2 separate regions of the Homo sapiens genome follow, and region 1 is linked to region 2. Evidence: promoter capture Hi-C in 16 types of primary human blood cells and fetal thymus (Javierre and others, 2016). All regions are on one chromosome and are shown on one strand. Each heading gives the region's core, a stretch centred on a gene start or on the middle of the fragment in contact. The rest is flanking DNA. Distances are from core to core; before and after follow the strand shown.

What was found. Contacts are between HindIII fragments. The CHiCAGO score rates a contact against its expected background, and 5 or more counts as called.
Region 1: the fragment with the promoter of GMPPA here is called in contact with the fragment with the promoter of SLC4A3 in region 2 in 2 of 17 cell types (M0 macrophages and M2 macrophages); the score reaches 5.9 in M0 macrophages.

Annotation. Positions count from the first base shown.
Region 1 is chr2:219,496,191-219,503,243 of GRCh38, reverse strand. GMPPA (GDP-mannose pyrophosphorylase A) reads right to left here and starts at 4,353. Exons shown (of 13, transcript NM_013335.4): 1 at 4,306-4,353; 2 at 3,229-3,288; 3 at 3,026-3,123; 4 at 1,665-1,768; 5 at 1,207-1,393; 6 at 803-862. The coding sequence starts at 3,268. SPEGNB (SPEG neighbor) reads right to left here. Exons shown (of 5, transcript NM_001286811.2): 1 at 7,027-7,053; 2 at 6,762-6,889; 3 at 6,128-6,435; 4 at 5,383-5,524; 5 at 4,957-5,193. The coding sequence starts at 6,889. The coding sequence ends at 5,055. The region is part of intron 1 of ASIC4-AS1 (ASIC4 antisense RNA 1); the gene reads left to right. RefSeq lists enhancers at 4,284-4,473, 4,478-5,295, 5,296-6,113, 6,114-6,931, 6,932-7,053 and a silencer at 5,304-5,383. The HindIII fragment of the contact is 29,233 bases long and covers 2,527-7,053 here.
Region 2 is chr2:219,621,937-219,628,926 of GRCh38, reverse strand. It overlaps SLC4A3 (solute carrier family 4 member 3), which reads right to left and starts at 1,297. Exons shown (of 23, transcript NM_005070.4): 1 at 1,182-1,297; 2 at 884-1,027; 3 at 357-522. The coding sequence starts at 934. LOC124908064 (a long non-coding RNA gene) reads left to right here and starts at 917. Exons shown (of 2, transcript XR_007088701.1): 1 at 917-987. RefSeq lists enhancers at 1-91, 92-794. The HindIII fragment of the contact is 16,254 bases long and covers 1-5,995 here.

The DNA.
Region 1 (7,053 bases), core at 3,104-5,603, 130 kb after region 2:
GGAGAACGGCATGAACCCAGGAGGCAGAGGCTGCAGTGAGCCAAGATCGCACCACTGCACTCCAGCCTGGGCAACAGAGTGAGACTCTGTCTCAAAAAAAAAAAAAAATCAGCTGGGCATGGTGGCTCATGCCTATAGTCCCAGCTACTTGAGGGGCTGAAGTGGGAGGATGGCTTAAACCTGGGAGGTCGAGGATGCAGTGACCCAAGATCATGCCACTGCACTCCAGCCTGGAAGACAAAGTGAGACTCTGTCTCAAAATAAATAAATAAACACATACATACATAAATAAATAAAGGAGGGAGGGTTATGTGAAAGTCAAGGGGCTTAGGAGAAGGGAGTTTCACAAAACAGGACAGAGCCCTGCTGCCCTGCCTATCATGCTCCTGCTTCTGGTATGTTACTTCCTGCCTCCAGGCCTTTATACCTGCCATTCCCTCTGCCTGTAGTACCTTCCTGTCTCCTTTGTCATCTAGACAAATGGGACTCTGCTCAGACCTTGCTTCCTCCAGGAAGCCCTCTCTACTCCCACCCCAGCAAGGCTGGGTTGGGGCCCCCTTGGTGTTCCCATCATGCACTGTGCATACATTTATTACAGCACCACCCCCAGGGAAATTAACCATTCCCCCCCTCCCCCTGGTCAATCTCTCTTAAAGGGATATAAGATGATTAATCGGGAGTGTCTCACCTGTCTGACAAGACTAGAGCCCACCCCATACTGTGCCAGCATTCTCTAGAGGCCTGAGGTAGAGGGGATGATGACACAGAGTAGGCACCCACCCAGCCCCCACTCTGCTCTCACCTCGTGTGTCTGTGGATTCTCAACGATGCAGCCGTAGTTGAGGGATTGCGTCCTGTTAGCCTGAAAGACAGACACACCCGAGACAGTGACCCGCCTGCTCCAGGGCAGCCACGTCTGTTTTTTCTTTCTTTCCCTCCGCTACAGCACCTGGCATGCAGCTCTGCCACTGACAGGCCTTCAGCAAGGGTGGAAACTGACAGCTGCCCTCCCCCTCCCTACTTCTGAACAGCCAGAGGGCTCGGGGTCTCCACTAACACCTCCATGCTGCCAGAGCAGCGCATCTCCCTCCTGACGCCAGCTCCCACACCAACTCCCGGGGCGCCCCTGCCTCCCCAACACCCTGAATTCCGGGAAGCTCTTGGGATCACCTCCTCTACACCCTCCAGCCCTCCTGACCCCCTCACCGTAGTGCCAAGGAGTAAGAAAGGGTGACGCTGGCGTCGGTGGGCTTCCAACATAGCACTCAAGGGGAAGTCGGAGCAGACATCAGCATTGAGCACGAAGAATGCCTCGGGGCTCCCAGCCAGGATCTGGTCTCGAAAATGGTAAAGACCACCCCCTGTGCCTAGGGGGGCAAATTCCTGCAGGTACCTGTCCCCAGGGACCCGAGAGCCAGCTCAGTGGATCTTAGGAAACAGATACCATGAGCCAGGGCACCTGACCGCCACCGCTTGCTCCCAGGACTACTCCTGCCCAAGGCCCACAGAGAAACTCTATATACTCAGAGATTCATTGATGTCCAAACAAGAATCCTTCTAGTAGGCGAGGATGAACTCCAGCAAATGCTGACTCAACCCACTTCCAAGAACTCAGAGGCCTAGGGCATCCCCACCCCCCCATATACGAGTGTGTGCACAAACACCTGACTGGAAGGTTAAACTCCTGCTGGGCGGCTTCTAGGAACTGGGTGAGGGGCTCATCAGGTTGGTAGAAGCCAATGAGCAGAATCTCCTGCATTCCAGGGACCTGAGGACAAGGGAAGAGGCTGGGATGAAGAATATCTAATAGGAGGGGATGTTGGGGAAATCCTTGGTGCTGGCCCAAAGTCCAGAAACCAGTTTCAGTCTCAGCTGTGGGGCCCCAGGGCACTCACCACTCTGGGCTATTTTCTCCTCTGGACAATGAGGAATTTGGAGGAAGTCGGAGGCCTGATCTTTTTTCGTTTTGTTTTATTTTTGTGAAAAAGGGTCTCGCTCTGTTGCCCAGGCTGGAGTGCAGTGGCATGATTTTGGCTCACTGCAGCCTCCACGTCCTGGGCTCAAGCGATCCTCCCACCTCAGCCTCCTGAGTATTGAAGACTACAGCCATGTCACCACCTGCCTCAGCCTCTAGAGCAGCTAGGACTACAGCCAGGCCATCACATCTAGCTAATTTTTAAACTTTTTGTAGAGAAGGGGTCTCTTGATGTTGCCAAAGCTAGGCTAGAACTCCTGGCCTCAAGCGATCCTCCTGACTCGGCCTCAAAAAGCGTTGGGATTACAGACATGAGCTACCATGCCAGGCCTGATCTTTCAATCAATTATTACCCCCACCAACCTGAACTGGGACTCACTCTAAGAAAGACTTTGCCTACCAAGCTGCATTAATCCATTTCCACCCCGCCCCCTCCCCCCCGGCCATTTTTATTATCTGTCAGCCTAAGCTTGAGATCAGCATGAGGTAAGGGTACCATTTATCAAGGGTCTGCGTTGTACTAGGCATTTTACAAATATCATTTCTAAGCTTCACCACCCAACAAGGTAGGTCTAATCACCCCCATTTTACACATAAGGAAACTGAGTGTCAGAGAGGGTGTGTTATTTGTTGCAGACCTCACAGCAGGCAGAGACTGAATTCAAACCAAAACCTTGCCTGGCTCAATACGAAAAGCAATAAAGAAATGAGCAACAATGTGATCAAGGATATGAATTTGTGCTTGGTTATCATTAAGAGTCTCCATGCTACGGCTTTACATTGTCTCCAAGATCCTTGCCTGATCTCACATTCCACACTTTAAAAATAGGAGTGAAATCTGAGCAGGAAGAGGCCAGATGAGAAACTAGATTAGGGGAAGACAGCAGGGCAGCTGCACAGCATAACTTGAGGGGGCGCCATTCACATTGTCATCTGTGAATGATGGTCCTTGGAGTTATGCCTGGTGGGAAGAGTTCATGGTTGGGAAAGGGGGAAACAGCATGAAGATAAGCAGGAAGTGAGGTGAGAGAGGGGAGCCCCTGAGGTTACCTGGGCACAGGCTTCAATATGGTGTTGGATCATAGGGACCCCTGCCACAGGAAACAATGGTTTGGGCACCTCAAAAGACAAAGGTCTGAAGCGAGTTCCTGGGAGAGGAGAGAGGAGAACATTTCGGCCTCCTGCCTTCCTCTGCCCCCATCCCGCCTACCACTCCAGCCCAACCTCCTCCCCCCATTCCCCTGGCACCTCACCCTTTTGAGGGCCTCCAATCAGGATCACCGCTTTGAGCATAATGGTGACTGCTACCTAAACTTCAAATTCCAACAGAGAAATCAAGCTCAGATCTCCTACCCCAACCAAGCCCCAAAACCCAAATAGCAACACTTAGCCCTCTCCCAAGATGTAAACCCAAAGCTCAATATAGTCTCTGCCTGGACCCAACACCTCACAAATCCCACACATCTCAAATCCCAGCAGAGAAATCAAGCTCAGATCTCACACCCCAACCAAACCCCAAACCCCAAATAGCAGCACTTAGCCCTCCCCCAAGATGTAAACCCAAAGCTCAATATAGTCCCTGCCTGGACAGAACCTCACAAATCCCACACATCTCAAATCCCAACCCAGATTCCAGTCGGCCTTCAAACCTCACAGTGATTCCTCCCAAATTCTGAAATTCACACCCCACAATTTGATCTCTAAAAGACTTCCCTCTGGCCATGAACAAATTCTGCAAATTCAGAAACCTGGCAGAGACTCCCTTCTCAGACCCAAACCTCAAAATACTGAAGCCTCAAATTCCCAAAGTGTTGCGTCTTCATTCTAGATATTAAGCCCTGAACCCCAATAGTGAACCCTGAATATTGGACAGCAAACCCTGAGTGAGCCTCAGATATTTAACTTAAATCCTGAACGTAATCCCCAAGTACTGAACTAACACTGATCTGAATTTGAAGAACCCCTAATCCCAGCAAAAATCCTCTATATGCTAAACATGAATCCTAAAACTAACCTCTGTATGTTGAACCCCAAATCAAAAGACAGGTTCCCTTGGCATCTCAAACACTGAACCTATTGACCCCCCTCCAGTCCTAATACGGACGACTGGGTCTAAATCTCTGGATTCGGAGGATTGATTGATTGCTGACCCTCTGAACCCCACAACTGACTCTGTCCAATAAACCCTGGCCTCTCATTGCCAGGGATTGTGGGACCAACACAGGGGCGGGCGCACCGAGGGCCAGCCAGGACCTCGGAGCCCGCTCTCCGTCTAGAGGGTGTCCCCTGCCCCTTACCCCTGCCGCCACCCCTCCACCAGCTCCCTTTACCACTAGCTCCCTTCACTCCAGCTCTGCCGCCCGCTACTGCAAGCTCCTTCCGCGCACGTGTCTTCTCGCAAGTCGCGAGAACTCATTCGCAGGGTCTGCCGGGAATTGTAGTCTGACCCTTTACCCGCTTTCTAACTTTATGGGAGAGGAAAGAGGTGCTGAAGTCCAGGGGTGTGACCAAGGGATCGCGGGGCGGGGTTAAATGCGAAGAAGGGTGGGGCCTGAGAAGCCCAGCCTGGAACTTAAGACTGGGACCCGAGCTGTTGGGGAATCGGCCTCGGGGCAGCAGCCGAAGTGAGGAACTGGGTCCCACAGGAAAACGGGACTAAGGACAGCAGGGGTGTGTGGCCAGCCCTGGAAGGGGCGGGGCCAGGGGCAAACAGCCACAAGGGGCTGGGGCTGGAGGCGCTCAAAAGCGGAGAAGGCGGAGTCCCAGGCCCAGCCGGCGGTACCGCTGGGAAGTGAGGGCGCCTTGGACGGCGAGGGCAACTCTTATCAGTTTGACTGTCTGAAATGCAGCACGGCGCTAGGCGCTCTCCAGACCTCCCTGTGACTCCAACAGGCTGTGACCTTGGCGTGGGGGTCTGGAATACGTGTGGGCGCTGGTGCGGGGGAGAGGGAATGGCGACGCGGAAGAGCAGGACAGACGCGGAGGGTCAGAGAGCAGCTTTATTAAGCAAGCTGGTGGAGGGCTGTGGGTCCCACCACCCCCGGGCTCGGCGCCAGGGCGGAAGGTCCGGGGGTGCCGTTCAGGCCACGTCGACGCGAGCGAAGCTCTGGTCCATGCCCAGGCTGTTCTCCACGTACACCTCGTACTTGCCGCTGTCCTGAGGCGTGGCCCGGCGAATGGTCAGCGTCGTGGTGGTGCTGCCGATCTCGAAGAACACCCTGCGGAAGGGCGGCGGGGAGGAGGGCGGAGCCGTGGTCAGTACACGGGCGCACTGGGCGGGGCTCCTTAGCCAGCTCTGTTCCTCGCTGCCCAGTCCCCGCCCCCGTCACTCCAGCCAGATTTCTGGGCTCAGTCCCACCCAGGTTCCAGCCCCAGGCCCTGGCCGTGCCGCAGGTCCCGGCCCTCGCCTGTCATCCTCCTCGATGTCCTCCCCGTCCTTGGTCCAGCCTACGTCGGGCGCAGGCTCTCCCAGGATCTCCGCAGTCAGCGTCACGGTGGTGCCTTTGCGCGCCTTAGTGTTGTCGGGTCCCTTTTGAATCTTCGTCGGGACTAGCGGAAGGAAAGGGGAGCGAAACCCCGTGAAGGACCCGGAGATGAGGCAGGGCATCACCTCACCGGCTAATACCCGGCACTAAATACAGATGCATTTAAACTCGCAGTGTGACGTTGAGCAAATCATTAGCCTCTCTGGTTTCATCTCCTTGGCTGTTAAAGGGACTTATCCCTGCCTCTCCTACTTCTCGGGGTCGAATAGAGGATCAAGAGAGATAAGGCGGGCGAAAGCCCCTGAATGTTCACACATCTCGCGGTGCCTCAGAGACCGCTCCGGGTAGTGGAAATTGCCAGAGTTGGGAGCCAGAAGACCCGGGTCCAACCCTGGCTCTGCCTCTGGCTTGCTGTGTGACCTTGGGGACCCGGAGCCGCGTGATGGAAGTCCACAGCTGACTGCTCAGCCCGGGTGGAGCTGGATCCCGAGGTAGGGAAGGACGCACTTGGCTGGCGCGGCGATGCGCCCCAGGCCGTGCCCAGAGCTGGGCTGGCGGGGACCCTGTAGCTAGGCCCAGAGGTAAACACGCGCAGCTGGACCGGGCTGCGGGCTCTGGCTGAGTGGTGCTGGTCTGCGCCCTGGCGCTGCGCCCGGGGCGCGCGTACCTTCCACGAGGATGCGCGCCGAGTCGGAGCACTGGCCGAAGGGGTTGGTGACGTTGATGCTGTACTGGCCCAGGTCTGCCAGCTCGCCGTCGCGCACCACCAGTGCCACCACGTCAGGGTCCTCGAAGACGTAGCGGTACTTGGGACCGTCACGTAGCTCCTTGCCGTCCTTACTCCAGCGGATGAATGGGTCCGGGAAAGCCGAAATGCGGCAAGTGAGCTTGGCCGCGCTGCCTTCGATCAGCACCACGTCCTTCAGCGGCTCCAGCACCCGCGGCGGCCCCTTCTCGCGCAGCTCCTTCCGGGACCTACCCGCGGGCCGAGTCAGGGCCCAGAGTTCCTAAGACAGGCCCGGCCACAGCCCTTACCGCGAGCGCACCATCTCCTACCTGCCCCCTGGACCGGCCAGACCCCTAAACGTGTGGCTTGGTAGGGAAGAGGACTGCTCCTGAACTGCTGCCCTGATAGGATGATGCATTCCTCCCGGCCACTCCCCCATACCTCAGTAACGACCCTCCCCTGAGACCACTCATTCTAAAGGCTCCTGACGCTGCTCAGCGCTTACTCAAACCCTACTCAAGAGTGCGCTCTCTGCAGCTCCCTTCCTCCACAGGGCTCCGGGGTTCCCTCTCACCTGTGGCCCCGGTAAGAGGCCTGGATACGAATGGCCGCACTCTGGACCTGTGGGTCATTGATGTCCAGGGTACATCCAGGAGCTGGGGCCACAGCCACTGGCTTTTTGGCAGGAGCTGCTTTAGACATCTGGGGAGTGGGCGACAAATATGGGGGTCCAGGTTGAGACAGAGGCTCCCACCTTCAGCCCTTTTCCTCCCTGGTCAGAACATTCAGGGAGATGGAGGAATGGGGGTGTCTGCGGCTTCTCTGAGGATCAGACTCACCGTGGAGGGGTTGACCTAGGGACTTGA
Region 2 (6,990 bases), core at 48-2,547:
GGCTGGGAGGGGAGACGTGATACAGCAAGGAGGGGAAAGGCGGAGTTGGACTAGCCGAGGTGGGACAAGGAGGGAGTGAGTGGGGACGAAGGGGAAGGGGAAGGTCACCGTGGAAGGGCCCAGGCCCAGCTCCCTAGATCTCCCCTGGTCTGGGGCCCACCTCCCCAGGCAGGCGGACAGGCGATGGGTGGGGGAGGCAGGATGACTGAACACGGCATGTGGCCCAGCACAGAGTCCAGCACAGTGTCCGGCACAGGATGGCACTGGGTGACCAAGCCGGAGGTGAGCGCGGTGATGGTGGCGATGAAGGTGATGGTGGCGAGGGCGGCCGCACTAGGGGTCCCCAGGCTACCCACACTCAAAGTCCCGCTCGCTGTAGCTGCGGCTGGGCTTCTCGGGGTCCCAGGCCGGGGGCTTGCTGATGAGGTCCCCAAACCTGCTCACAGCCAAGGTCTTGCCCAAGTCATCGTCCTCCTCCTCCACGTCTGGACTTAGAGGGGGCTCCTCCAAGGGCACCCGGACCTGCAGGCCCAGACGGCCTCTGCTAAGGACCCCTGACCCATGAAGGCCCCACACCCACCCCAACTCCAAGCCCTAGTTGGGGGAGCTCAGCAGGCTCTCACACCATCGGGCCCCCTCCCCTTGCTCCCAGGCCTGTGTCAGCATCCCAGAAACCACCCTCTCTGGGCTCCCAGAGCTTGTAAAGAGAGAGGGCTACGGATCTGGAAAATATCAAAAACCCCCCTCTTTCTCCGTAACCCCCAGCCCAGCTCATCCCTGGATCTGGGGGGTCCCGGGGTCGGCCAGAGGACTCCTCTGCCCACCCTAAGGTCCCTCCCCTCTCCTCCCCCATCTCTCCCCCGCCCCCGCGCGCGCCGATCACCTGGGGTAGGGGGGAGGCGCCCCCGGGCGGCGGGATCACTCCGTTGGCCATGGCCAGGTAGGCGGCTGGGGACGCTCTCGCTCACTAGGGGACCCGAGACCCAGGTGAGAAGGAGGGGCCACTGAGGGGGCCTAGCGGGGAGCCCTGGGGGAGGAGGGCGGGGTCAGGTTCCTTGCGCTGGCGCCCCCCACCCGGGAGCCGGATGCACGCTCCCGGCCCAAGCGCCCCTCCGAGGCCCAGCCACGCCCGGGACAGCCCGGGTCCCCCGCCCTGCCCGGCGTGCCCCGCCCCGCGGTACCTCGGGGCTCCGGAGCCTGCGAGGCCCAGGCGGGCCGCCGCGCCCCATGTCCCCCGCGCTCTCTCCCGAGCGCAGCCGCGACTGCCGTCCGGCCTCTCGCAGCGCAGAGCCGGGCTGGCCGGGCGGACGCAGGCGCCGGAGCCCGCAGCCCGCGGCTCCACCTCCTCGCGCTCCGCTCCGCACCTCCGCCGCCGCCGCCGCCGCCGCCGCCGCCGCCGGGCCGCACAATGGGAGCGGGCGGGCCGTGACTCACCCCGCCCCGGCCGGCGCGGCCCCCACGCGCGGGCCCCGCAGCACCCCACCTGCCCGTGCGCCCCTTCTCCAGGCGCCCCACGCATCGCTGGGGGCTGGGGCGCGGCCCGATATTCCCACAATCCCCCAGATTCGCTCCCCAACCCTGCTTTTAGCCTCCCCTCCCCTCCAGAGCCCAGGAAGCCACCCCCTCCGCAGACACAGGCCCCTCCAGTCTTGGGAACGGAGCTCACAGACCCCTGGAAGCACCCACCACCTCCCCTTTCATTTCTACCACAGCCTTGCCTCTCAAAGGCCTGGCTTCTGTCGCCTGGCACCACCCAACGTTTGACCTTGACACAGTACCTCCCCTCCTCCCGCCTCAGCTTCCCCAGCTGTAGCGAGAGGGGCCTGCAATAGGGGTGTTCCAAAGTTCTATGCAACTCTAAGACTGTGTGGCTCCGTTTCCACATTTCCTCTCCCTTCTCCCCCTATCCCTGAGGTCACATCTCATTTTCCAAGGGCAAAAGGTCTTTCGAAGGAGCCACTGGACCCCAATCGGCCCCTATCCCGAGATCAATGAAACTGGACTTCTACACAGTGCGATGCCATAACAGCCCTGTGACCTTGGTACTTCACCGCGTCTGACCCCTGGCCTCATCTAGATCTCAGCTCAACCCAAGGAAAGATTTTCTGTGTGCATAGCCTTCCAAGGGGAAGGGAGCTAGGATCTGTTGGACGCCCACATTGTCTTGTGTGTGCTCACAGTCCTGTGCTAGGTTGGCCCTCTCCAGACTGGCTGCCTCGTCTCAGGCATAATAATAAGAGGAGCTGTTATGATTCCCATTTGGTCGGCAGAGGACAGTGGAGACTCAGGGAGGCTCGTTACCTGCCATGGTCACAGCTGGAAAGCAGGCTGCCGACAGGTTTGGGCATCATTATCCATGTATTGAAGTGACTCTCCAAGCCACAAACAAAATTTTTAACTGAAAGAGATGAACTGTCCTCCTAAGTCTCACATGGTGAGTCCCAAGGTGGGAATTCCTAGGGTGGGAATCAGCTATGCCTAGGCAGAGCACAGCTGTGCCCCAAAACTCAGAATGGGAGACCCAGCTGTTGGGAGTTGAGTAGTGTCCCCCAAAATTTATACGTTGAAGTCCTAACCCCTGGTACATCAGAGTGTGCCCTTATTTGGCAATAACGTTCTTGCAGATGTTAAGATAAGGGTGGACTCATCCATTATGACTGGTGTTCCAGTGAAAAGGGGAAATTGGCCAGGTGCGGTGGCTCACACCTGTAATCCCAGCACTTTGGGAGGCCAAGGCGGGTGGATCACGTGAGATCAGGAGTTCGAGACCAGCCTGGCCAACATGGTAAAACCCTGTCTCTACTAAGAATTAGCTGGGCGTGGTGGCACACGCCTGTAATCCCAGCTACTCAGGAGGCTGAGGCAGGAGAATTGCTTGAACCCAGGAGGCAGAGGTTGCAGTGAGCAGGGATCGTGCCAGTGCACTCCAGCCTGGGTGACAGAGCAAGACTCCATCTCAAAAAAAAAAAATATATGTATATATATATATGGGGGAAATTTGGACAAAGAGACGTGCATTCAGAGAACGCTTTGTGAAGACTGGAGTTATGCTGCCACAAGCCAAGGAACTACCAAAGCTAGGAGAGAGGCCTGGAACAGATCCTTCCCTAGTCCCTTCAGAGAGAGCCTAGCCCTGCAGACACCTCGATGTCTGGCTTCTAGCCTCCAGATCTGTAAGACAGTAGATTTCCATTGTTTAAGCCACTGGGTTTATGATACTGTGTTACAGTAGCCCTAGCAAACCAGAGCTATCCCAATTCTTTATTCCTCTGAGCCAGGCAATGTGGTTCCAAGTCCCTACCTTGAATTTTGTTTTGGTAGGGCCTTCACGTCCTTAGAGACACTCAAGAGCCTTGGAACCTTTCCTGGTCGGCATTGCACAGGGGCTCTGGTCTTCAATCCACCTCGACATTGTGTTCCCAGCCCCGCTCCTCTAGTCTGTAAAGTCAGACAGCAGTTACTTTAATACTGAGACAGCCTGAGAAGGGTCTTGCCAACCAGGGACCCCTGGTGTACCAGGCCATGTACATCCTGCACACCAAGATGCCATAAGGGTGTCACAGGACTTGTCCCTCTGAGGTTCCATCCACCCCAGAGAGGATGCTGAGCACAGGCCCTCAACTTTTGGTAGCCCCAGACCCCCATTCTTTCAGTTGGAGACCCGCACCCCACCCAGAGTCTGAGGCTTCGTTCTCTACCCTTACAGACCTTCCTCTCTCCTCCACCCCTCTGAGATGATGGAGTAAAATCTCCCCTTGAAGAGCCTTTAGACACCCATGTTTATCTCTTTCTTTCCAGGCTGGGGGGAGTAAGATGATGCTGACACCCACCAACTCATCCTATTAGACATAAACGCATGCTTTCATTAGGCCCGCTCTCGTCTTTGACATCCTGCCTGCGGCGCACCTGTAATTGTCAGTCCCCTACAGTGTGTTCCCGATGGGGTCTTCATTTCTGTGACAAAAGAGCACTCCTTGCATGCACAAAGGATGGCCACTCTGGGTATGTGTCAGCTTCTAGCTTACAGCCTGTAGACACTGAAATGGTGACAGGAAAGGTGACAGCAAAGGCTGAAGCCAGCGACAGGCCAGCTTAGAGCAGTAGCCAACTGTCACACCCTTCCTCACAGTCCAGTCTCACAGGAATGTCCCCACCCTGCATGCTGGCAGCATAGGACACTTGTCTGCACATGCAGCAGCACCACAGCCTGTCCCTTAGGTCCGAAGGAGCAGGAGCCATCCCGCCACACCACCCAGATTTGGAGGCAAAGCACACCGTTCTCTGGGCTCCCCATGAATGGGCCAGAAGCCCTCGGGTGGATTCCTCTGATTCTGTTCCCTGAAATCACTCTGCGGGTCCAGCGTGCTGGGAACTAGACCAGTATGGCAGATATCTGTCATCTGTGGCCACCCAGATCTTTGAAAACCCACTTTTACATTTTGGTCATTTCTCATAAGTCTTCTCTTGCCAAGATAGAAGCCAGAAAACCATTGCAGCCAGGGCACAGATACTGACCTCGGTTCCACCAGTCAGACTCACCTGTGCAAGACCTGAATTTAGAAGTGAGCATTGTGCACAGGAGACTCAGACTTCTGCAGGCATGGAAGGCAGAGAAGTTCTCATGTTATAGCTGGTCATTAAGTCCTTGCTCTCTATTCCTCCCGAGAATACCCTCTAATCCTCATTATTTTTTAGTAAATTCCCTTCCAGCTTAAAGTGGCTGTTATTTCCAACTAGTCATCCTGACTGCTAGAATCAGGGGAATGGGCTCTAAGTCTAGGTCATGGGATGAGCAGGCACCAGACATTAGTGATGCCAACATCAAGGAGCTGGCAGAGAGGATGTGAGGGAATGGCCCTCCTGTTAACAGGCCTGGGTAGCCCCTGCCTGTCTTATGATTACTGTGTCATTCGCCATCATCTCCATCCAGTGCTCTTAAGGATAACAACAATGATAACTTCATTATTTTAAATGCAGGTAGTGCTTTCCAGCTTACAAGCCACTTTAATATTCATATTCTCATTGGTTCCTCACAACAACCCTCTGTGGTAGAGCATCTTAACCCCATTTGACAAGTGAGAAAAATGAGGCTTGGTAAGTTTAATTGGCTTGCCCAAGGTCTAAGGCTCATAGGCAACATGGCCAGAAGCAGATGCAAGGGCTTCTGGCTTTATGTCCTATATTTATCCTCATATATCACATACCACAGTACCTCCCCGCACCATGTCTTTTTTTTTTTTTTTTTTTTTTTTGAGACAGAGTCTCGCTCTGTCACCCAGGCTGGAGTGCAATGGCACAATCTTGGCTCACTGCAACCTCTGCCTCCCGGGCTCAAGCGATTCTCCTGCTTCAGCCTCCCAAGTATCTGGGACTATAGACGGGCACCACACCCAGATAATTTTTGCAATTTTAGTAGAGATGGGGTTTCACCATGTTGGCCAGGCTGGTCTCGAGCTCCTGACCTCAAGTGATCCACCCATTTCGACCTCTCAGAGTGCTGTGATTACAGGCATGAGCCACCATGCCCAGCCTCCCCCACCATGTCTTGATGCCCTCCCACAACTGTTAGACCTTCCATGCCATGGGCACAAACTGAAATAGACCACTAACTTCCCAGATCGACTTTTCAAGGAGACTGCATCTTTGTGACTAGCGTCTGTATAGGGGAATAGTTAAATGTGAGACCTCTAGAGCCAAGCCGCCTGAGTTCATAGCACAGTTCTGCCACTTGACAGTTGTGTGACTTTGATCAAGTTATTTGCCCTCTCTGGGTCTCAGATTGCCTATCTGTAAAATGGCAATAATAACAGGGTTGTTGAGAGGATGAAATGAGTTCATTTGTATAAAAGGGTGACTGGCCTATAGTAAGTGCTCAACACTGTTAGCTAGTTTCAATACTACTACAAATCTAAGAGACAAAAATACCAAAAAGTCCTCAAATAACTTGCACTGTGAAAAAATGGTGAAATGTACACACGTAAAATAAGCAAAAGCTTGTCCTTACCAGAGCAATAATTCTAAGAGCCATATTAAATATGACAATTGCAAACTCTAAGAAGGTGGGGACATCCAGAATGACTTTTATCCCCACCAGGGTAGATTGTGACACTCTTTGGTCATGGACCAATCTTTGCCTTGGAAAACCTAACTTGGCAGGCTGGAGAGTTTCTGGAATAGAGCAGGGTATGGGTTGAGCTAGCCCCAGTTTCACTTAGACTCTTGCCAAAAGTATCTCCCCACTCCCCACAGCAGAGCACCCAGTGCCATTTGCTGCTGACTGGCCTGGTGGTGAGTAAGATCTTATTTTTACACAAGAGATAACATGGCATTGAGAAAGAGCTCAGACTCTGGAGTTAGAGATGCTATATGTAAAATGCCAGTTGAATGCTTGGCACAAAATAGGTGCTCAATAAATGACATTCTTATTATTTACTATCGTTGTTACTCTGCGGTGGTTTATCCCATCATAATTCATGGGTTGCTTGGTAAATTTGGACTCAACTTTGAAATAAATCCAATCTCAGGACAGCACCAATGTCCCTGAAGTTTCTCCCACCCCTGCAGAATCCACCTTCCAGCTCCCGTCTTTACTGATGTATTTGGCTAACATAGAATTTTGAGATACAGATCTATGTCCTTGCATGCTCCTCTTCTGCCCCTACCCAAGCAGGTAACCTGCTTCGAGTTTTGTTATTTGGGGCGAATGGGTAGGACAGAAAGCAGAAATCGCCTACGAGCCCTTCTGCCTTTTGTTCTTCCAGAGACAATGCTTTAGGGAACCAAGGGAGGTTTGTGAAGGAAGAAAGAGGAAGAGGGTTAGCAAGAGAGACAGTGTCTTGGCTGGAAGATGGGGAAGGAGTGGAGGAGCAGACCCTTTGACCTTCCCCATCAGCAAAGCAGGAGGGTCCCCAAGATGCAGAGAGGGGAGAAAGTGAAGTCAGTGAGTCCTGCTAACCCTGTGGGATGGGGGCTTGAAATAAAATCAGGCTG